Linked DNA regions of Homo sapiens: region 1 is linked to region 2. Evidence: promoter capture Hi-C in 16 types of primary human blood cells and fetal thymus (Javierre and others, 2016). All regions are on one chromosome and are shown on one strand. The core of a region is centred on a gene start or on the middle of the fragment in contact, and the rest is flanking DNA. Distances in the headings are between cores, read along the strand shown.

Region 1 (4,286 bases), core at 1,341-3,840, 1.3 Mb before region 2:
GATAAGCATATAAATACTTGCCACAGCATTTGTATAGAGTCAATATAATTATTCAAATTTCCTCACAACATTTAATTATGTTGACAAATCACAACTGATTAAGCCATTCTTTTAAAAAATGATATTTGGGTTATTCCCAACTTTTTGCTCCTATAAATGATGCTACAAACAAACAGCATTTTTGCAAATATAACTTTTATTTTCTGAGGCTTTAGGATAATTTCCAAAATACCAGCTCATAAAGTATTAGTGTATTTGTGCCTCTTGCTACAAGTTACATGGAAATATTTTAGATTGAGTTGCTGAGAAGGGGGAAGAAGAAAAGAGAACCCTACACATTAAATGTCCTACAGTATGTACATTAATACATTTTTCTCTATAAGACCTCAGGCTACTCTCTCAACTTTGAACACCATCAGTTCTGGTGTCAAAGTCAAGGTGTAGGTCACCCAACATGCTGGGTTTTTAAATCTGGCTTTTCCAGATCAACCTGCCACCATTTAATGAAAAACTCCACAGGAAAGATGAAGGAATGTTCAAGGTTTTCCTCCTCATGCACCAAGCTGATCCTTTGTATTCACATATCCAAAAGGTATGCAAATTGGCTAAAATGAAAGGGCTGATTGAACTTTGGCAGTCAAAACTCATCTTTGCTGATAACATGACGTAGACTTAAAAGAAGCATATGCAATTGATATTGTATGTATATCTTCATGTTTTAACATCATCTATTATCAGAATAAAAAGCCTTTGAAAATCAAATGTGATCTTTCTCTAAAGAGAAATCTCGACAAGTTAATAGGCATTACAAACTGAATTTAAAAGCAAATAAGAGTTTTAAGTGAGGGTGGAGGGGCAGGTAAAAATGCCACTGATTAATATTTACCTTGAAAATGGCTTGCTTTTCTTGCTGTTGCCAAGAATGGTAGTTCCTGCTGGCCCTAGTTTGGCACTCTCTCGTAACCAGTTGGCAGGTGGGAGTTTCAAGTCTGTTTTCTCTTCAAGGCGTGCAAATGCTGTTCGAGGAGGGGCAGAAGAGTATTTCACCACAGCTCGGCTCTTCACTTCATTGCCTCCAAGAAATAAAGCTGATCCCTAATTAACACATTGGGTGAAACTTTAATGAAAATTACTAAGAACGAAAAATCTCACCTTTATAAAAAGAAAACAAGAACCTGTCACACCAGGCTTCACAAGGAACGTATGCCACATGTTACTAACAGCACTTAATAAATTTGAGCATAAATGGTAACATTTACTTAGTTCTTTTACACCAACTTCAAAGAAAAAAGATGAGTCAAGGAGTATGATGGTTATGGTTATCAGCTAGAAAATGGACCACCCACATCTCTTTTAAAATGTATTCATGTAAAGTGGAGAAGCAGAAACCAAGGAGACTCAATGGTATCATGTTAACTAGATGCAAACTTTAGTAAAGCCTATTTTCAGTATTAAAGATGTATTTTAATTCTTTTTTTTTTTTTTTTTGAGACGCAGTCTTGCTTTGTCGCCCAGGCTAGGGTGCAGTGGAGCAATCATGGCTCACTGCAACCTCGGCTTCTGGGGTTTACGCCATTCTCCTGCCTCAGCCTCCCTAGTAGCTGGAATTACAGGCGTGCACTACCACGTCCGGCTAATTTTTGTATTTTTAGTAGAGACAGGGTTTTGCCATGTTGGCCAGGCTGGTCTCGAACTCCCCGACCTCAGGTGATCCACCCACCTCGGCCTCCCAAAGTGCTAGGATTACAGGCGTGAGCCACCGCGCCCGGCCAAAGATGTATTTTAATTTTAATAACACATCATTCATAAAATAGTCTGGTAGAACATTTGGGCTTTTTGTTTTAATGCAAATATTTAGTAATCGATGCATCGGTTCATGCATGCATGCATGGTTCAAATACTCTTGAGTCTCTAACTTCATAGAAAGGCATTGGGGGTTCGTTCCTCACAGCCTGCACTTGCACACTCCCAAAGCAAGTTCGGCGTCTGGGTTCAATATTCTAACCTTTCACGCAGTACCTCTTCTGCATGGCAAACATTTTACACCCTTTGTGAATTAGTTCGGTCTCATTCTCGGCGAGTCACTACCTGGCACCGTTTCTTCCCTCCTGCTTTGCACGACTGTGCCACGTTTTGGAACGACATATTTACATGTACCCTCCTTGAGAGGAAAGATCGTATCTAATTCACCTGTCGGCTACCAGAACTGCTTTTAATACGAATACCTGCCGACTGGAGCATGGACTTCAACTCCCTGTTTTGGGGGTGTCAGGGAAACATGGAGAAGCCTCCAGAATCTGCCGGGAACCGTGGCATCCCTCCCCGGTGGAGCGGGTCCTCCGCTCCCACATCCCTGGCAGGTCCCCCTCCGCGGAGGACTCACCTGTGCAGAAGATTCCTCGGATTCTCCCTGGGACAGGAGGCTGAGCCCTCCTCGAGCGGCGGCCCCGGCCGGCGGACCCTCGGCTCCGGCCTCCTTGGCATCCCCCATCACTTCGATCCAGGGCAGGCGATACGACGGGGGAGCGGAGGAGCAGCAGCAGCAACGCAGGCCCAAAGCAGGGTAAGCGCCAGAGACGCTCCGCGGACCGCACTTCCGGTCTCTGCCAGGAAGAAGTAGCTGTGACTCGCCATTAAATCTCGCGATCTTTGTCCCGAAGGCCCGGCCCCGCCTCCCGCTGCGGGTGCCACCTTCGCGGCCAGGGCGGGAATTGTAGTGCGCCTGCGCTTGTCCGAACCTCTTCGGGAGACTACTTCTCGCGGTATCTGACTCCTAGGCTCCGCCCTCTGCACGCCGCTCACGGTATCTGACGCTCAGGCTCCGCCCCCTGCATGTCTTTGTTGGCAAACAGTTCTGGGGGTCGTCCGATCCTGCAGGTAGTGTCCGCGTGGGAGGGGAGGTGCAGCCGTCAGCGCTGCCGGCGGCTCCCGTTACGTGAATTAGTGAGAGGTTCAAACTTCTTCCCCAGGCTTCAGTGTCACATCTTTTCACACGGGCACCCCGAGGGCCCGGACTGGAAAGGCGAGCCAGCCATCTCGAGACTGGGCGCTCCTGCCCGCCTTTTAGTGCCCATGTGGCCCCATCCTGGGTGTGGGAGCGGCGGGGCTTCCGGGGAGGGCGCTGGGACGCGCGGACGAGGCCCTCCCCGTTTAGGGAATGGGTGGCTTTCGGAGTCTTCTGGGGGCCCGGCATGCCCGCTGCTTGCGGGGCGTCCCAGGTGGTGCAGGACCCGTGAGACGCTGAACCTGGGGCCTCGTAACGCCTAGGTTTCCATTCGGGCGCTCTGGATGGGTCCGAGACTCGGCATTTCTCACAGGTTCCCAGGAAACGATGCCAGCGCTTTGAGTAGCGAAGAGGTGGAGAAATAGCCCGGGCCGTTTGCAAGCTTTGAAGGTCCAGGCTCTCTTTCACACTCCTCAGTGTCATCTCAAACTGTCAAACGCAGCCACATCCGTTATACAATACATGTTTTGTAGTAAAAGTGTTTTGTTGTGCCGTAAGATACAGAAAGTGTTTTTAAAAATTAACTTGGCTCTTGCAATTTGGCTGTCTCAATTTGTAATTCACGTTTGGCTCTTACAACTCACTGTCCTGTCCGTTTTCAGGAATGCTCCTGATGAGTAAGCATTCAACTCACAAATTGCTTTCAAATGTAACAAAACAATTTTATGAATTAAATTTAACAGGCCGGGCGCGGTGGCTCACGCCTTTAATCCCTGCACTTTGGGAGGCCGAGGTGGGCAGATTGCCTGAGGTCAGGAGATCGAGACCAGCCTGACGAACAGGGTGAAACCCCATCTCTACTAAAAATACAAAAATTAGCCAGATGTGGTGGTGGGCGCCTGTAATCCCAGCTACTAGGGAGGCTGAGGCAGGAGAATCGCTTGAACCTGGGAGGCAGAGGTTGCAGTGAGCAGAGATGGCAACACTGCGCTCCAGCCTGGGCGATAGTGAGACTCTGTCTTAAAAAAATAATAATAGTGAATTAAATTTAACAGTTAATTTGATATAATAGTGTATTTTGTAGACATTTACTTCAACATGTATTGATTTTGATTTTTATCATTTCATTTGAATATTGCAGCCAATAATTCTTTTTTGGTTTTTGCAAGTTATGCATTGTTTTTTATGGTGAAAAGTTGAACATAATATCTAACACTAGGAGGAGGATAGTCAAATTTGGTTTTGGTAGAAAATAAACCCTGTGCAACCATAAACTTGTTTTTCAGGAATATTTAAGAACATTTAAATTGCATATCATATAATGTTAAGTGATAAGTGAAAT
Region 2 (4,044 bases), core at 56-2,555:
GGAGGCCGAGGCAGGTGGATCACCTGAGGTCAGGAGTTAGAGACCAGCCTGCCCAACATGGTGAAACCCCGTCTCTACTAAAAATACAAAAAATTAGCCGGGTGTGGTGGCACATGCCTGTAATTCCAGCTATTCAGGAGGCTGAGGCAGGAGAATCGCTTGAACCTGGGAGGCGGCGGTTGCAGTCAGCAGAGATTGCACCACTGCATTCCAGCCTGGGCAACAAGAGCAAAACTCCGTCTCAAACAAAACAAATAAAAAAAGTAACTGGGCATGATGGCGGGTGCCTGTAATCCCAGCTACTCGGGAGCCTGAAGGGGGAGAATCACTTGCACCCGGGAGGCGGAGGTTGCAGTGAGCCGAGATCGTGCCATTGCACTCCAGCCTGGGCGACAGAGCAAGACTCCATCTGAAAAGAACAAAACAAAACAAACAAAAAGTATATCATTTCAACAGGCAAACAACATAACCCATTTTCATGTTTTTATTTTACATTTTACTCACGAAGTCTGGTGTTTTTGGGGGTTTTGTTTATGAGACCGTCTCGCTCTGCAGTCCAGGCTAGAGTACAGTGGGGTGATCACAGCTCACTGTAGCCTTGACCTCCTGGGCTCAAGCGATCCTCCTGCCTCAGCCTCCCAAGTGGCTGGGCCTACAGGCGTGCACCACCACACCCGGCTAATTTTTAAATTTTTGGCAGAGACGGGGTCTCCCTATGTTGCCCAGGGTGGTCTCCAACCCCCTAGCCTCAAGCGATCCTCCCTCCTCTGCCTCTGCAAGTGCTAGAATCACAGATGCGAGCCACCGCGCCCGGCTAAGTCTTGTTAATCGGTATGCATTTTACGCTTACAGCACATCTCAATTCAGACTGGCCGCAGGTCAAGCGCTCAGCAGCGCACGTACCAGGTGGCCGCCCTGTCTGACCGCGCAGCCCTAACCAGCAGAGTCCTGGTGCTCGCCGGGGGCAACAGTGGGGTCGTCCGTGGTCAGCACTGTGCGCGCACCGGGGTGGGAAGGGGGAGACCGAGGCGGGGCCTGCGCCGCGGCCCCGCCCCCTGCCGCCCCGCCCCCTGCCGGCAGCCAGGGAGCGGGCTGAGCTTAGAGCTCGGCGGCCCCAGCGGCGTCCCGGGGCCCACTCACCTGGCCACCGCCTCCACCGAGCCGGCGATGGCCGTGCCGCCGCCCGCGCCGCTGTCGTACAGCACGCCCGAGATGTCAAGCAGCACCCCGCGCACGCCAGCCAGCCGCTTGCCCCACGGTGCCATGGCGCCCGGCCCTGCTCCTCAGCTCCGCGTCCCAACCGACGCCGGCGCCGGCGCCGCGGCCGCGCAGGGGCGCCTGGGAACTGTAGTCCCGCGGGCGGGGCAGGGCAAGAAGACCGGGTGCAAACCCGGAACTGGGGCGCGGCCTGGGCACCCCGGCGTCACTCGCCCCTGAAACGGTGTCCTTTTCGGAAGCTTTCTTCCCAGGAGATCAGCGGACAAAGAGCAGGAAAAGCAGAAAACAAGTCCCTAAGAAAGGTCAAAGGCAAATTGAGACAAGAAGGCACCTGTAGCCAGGGGCGGTGGTTCACGCCTGCAATCCCAGCACTTTGGGAGGCAGAAGCGGGCGGACAGCTTGTGCCCAGGAGTTCTAGACCAACCTAGTCAACATAGTGAGACCCTGTCTCTATTAAAGAAAGAAAGAAAAAGTACAATACAAAATTGAGGCCGGGCGTAGTGGCTTATGCCTGTAATCCCAGCACTTTGGGAGGCTGAGGCGGGTGGATCGCTTGAGATCAGGAGTTCGAGACCAGCCTGGTCAACATGGTGAAACCCCTGTCTCTACTAAAAATACAAAAATCACCTAGGTGTGGTGGCGCATGCCTGTAGTCCCAGCTACTCGGTAGGCTGAGGCGGAAGAACCGCTTGAACCTGGGAGGCGGAGGTTGCAGTGAGCCGAGATTGCACCACTGCACTCCAGCCGGGGCGACAGAGCAAGACTTTGTCTTAAAAAAAAAAAAAATTATATGCAGATAACAGCCCTGCATAGATGAGGATGCATAGGACCTGGGCTGAGAAGAAAACGGGACTATCACAATGCGTTAAACCCAGGAGGTTTTTGGATAAGCTATAAAATACCACTCGATGCTACATTATTTTTGCAATAAATACACATTGATATTAAAAGGGAGGAGTTTCCTCAATGGCCCCTCGGAACCTTTCAAGTTATTAAATAGAAACGAGAACACTTTACTTCTGGTCCAACATAGCTTTGAGCTTTCAAAGAAGAGAGGATCATATTATTTCACCATTTCTTTTCAGGCTCTTGATTCACAGAAAGGATGAGGAATTCGTTGAAATGTTATGGGGTTCAATGAATTGTGTATATTTTGTTGACATGCTTACTAGGGGAGCTGTTTACAAGTGAAATAAAATACAGTTCCTACCCTTTGGGATTTCCACTAATGGGGTTGGGGAGTAGTATACCTTATATAAGGGTTCTTAGTCGCAGACAATAGACACCACTCCAGCTAGAGGGGTTTTGTTTACATGAGGTGAAGGAGCTTACAGATGACGGGTCTAAGTCCTACACAGCCAGGAGCCATGCAGCCACGAGAAACACTTAATTTTACTACTCCATTGGGACCACTGCCCCATCACTTAGTGCAGCCCCCAGCATAGCTGCCCCCAAAAGAACAAAACATATCCACCACTGTGCCCTCCACCTGTGGCCACCCACTCACTTTCACTGTGTCTGGCTTGGTGGAACCTAGCCCACGCTGCAAAGGAGTCTGGGAAATGCAGTTTTTAGTGTTCCAGGGGCTGAGTGAGTCAGTTTGGAGAATCTGCTAGGAACATCATGAACCGTACACGTATTGAGACCCTACTCTGTGCAGTGGGCACAAAAAAGTTCTAGGGTGTGATCCTTGCCTTCCAGGATCAAGACTGGGCAGAGAACAATGGAAGACCTTCACGACTGCTGACCAAATGTGTGCCAAGTGGCAATGAGTGACACAGACACAGTCAAGAGGATGACCTCTGCAGGCCTAGGAGGGCAGCTGTGGCTTCTGGGCAGGGGCAGCCTGAAATGGACCTTGGAGAATGGCTGGGCTTTAGCTTCATGCCAAGGAGGAGGAAAAGGGGTGCTTCTGCCAGTGGTGTGAGCCTACCCATAGTTGTTTCTTTTCAGTCAGCTCTGTGGGTACTCTTGGGCAAGTCCCTTTTCATTTCTACGACTACAGTAGACAGAATAGTGCCCCCTTGAGATGTCCACCTCCCAATCCCCACAACCTCTAAATATATTACCTGACATGGCAAAAGGGACTTAGATCTTGCAGAGCCTATGCTCCTGTAGGGAGATTATCCTGGATGGTCCAGGTGGGCCCAGTATAATGACATGAGTCCTCATAAGGGAAAGAGGGAAGCAGGAGAGAGTCAGAGTCAGAGAAGGAGGTGTGACAGCAGAAGCAGAGGTCAGAGAGAGAGGTGTGAAGATACCGTGCTACTGGCCTTGAATACAAAGGGGCCATGAGCCAAGAAATGCAGGTGGCCTCTGGAAGCTAAAAAAGGCAAAGAATTGGATTCTCCCCTAGAGCCTCCAGAAGGAATGCAGCCCTGCTGGTACTTCAAGTTTAGGACTTCTTACCTCCAGAACTATAATAATAAATCTGTTGTTTTAAGCCACTAAGTATATGGTAATTTCTTGCAGTAGTGACAAGAAACAAATACAGGGATCCAGGTCCCTCACCTGAAAAATGTGGCAAGTCTCTAAGTGTGGGCCACTGATAGGCTAAAACTTGATCTGAAAATTCCAGGCTTTTCTTGGGATGCAATGAGTGTAGGGCATTGTCTATGTTAGGGTTGCATTTGGCTACATGTAACAGAAACCCAGCCATAGTTGCCCAACCAAATCAGATTTTACTTTTCCTCATATATCAAGAAGCCAAGAGGGAGGAAATCCTGGATGGGACAACAGCTCCCAGGACCATCAGGCTGCCTCCTGCTTTCTGCTCCACCACTCTCTCAGCATGTGGCCTGCTCCTCACGCTAGCAAGATTCCTGC

The links. The method cuts DNA at HindIII sites, captures the fragments that hold promoters and counts their contacts. A CHiCAGO score of 5 or more calls a contact.
Region 1: a contact is called between the fragment with the promoter of EDRF1 here and the fragment with the promoter of LHPP in region 2, in 3 of 17 cell types (neutrophils, naive CD4 T cells and total CD8 T cells). The highest score is 7.9, in neutrophils.

What each region holds. Positions count from the first base shown.
Region 1 is chr10:125,718,013-125,722,298 of GRCh38, reverse strand. EDRF1 (erythroid differentiation regulatory factor 1) reads right to left here and starts at 2,590. Exons shown (of 25, transcript NM_001202438.2): 1 at 2,384-2,590; 2 at 887-1,095. The coding sequence starts at 2,491. EDRF1-DT (EDRF1 divergent transcript) reads left to right here and starts at 2,806. Exons shown (of 5, transcript NR_033847.1): 1 at 2,806-2,877. RefSeq lists enhancers at 1,707-2,689, 2,805-2,884, 3,365-3,474. The HindIII fragment of the contact is 5,171 bases long and covers 1-3,388 here.
Region 2 is chr10:124,459,084-124,463,127 of GRCh38, reverse strand. LHPP (phospholysine phosphohistidine inorganic pyrophosphate phosphatase) reads right to left here and starts at 1,305. Exons shown (of 7, transcript NM_022126.4): 1 at 1,141-1,305. The coding sequence starts at 1,265. RefSeq lists a silencer at 966-1,425. The HindIII fragment of the contact is 2,939 bases long and covers 1-1,459 here.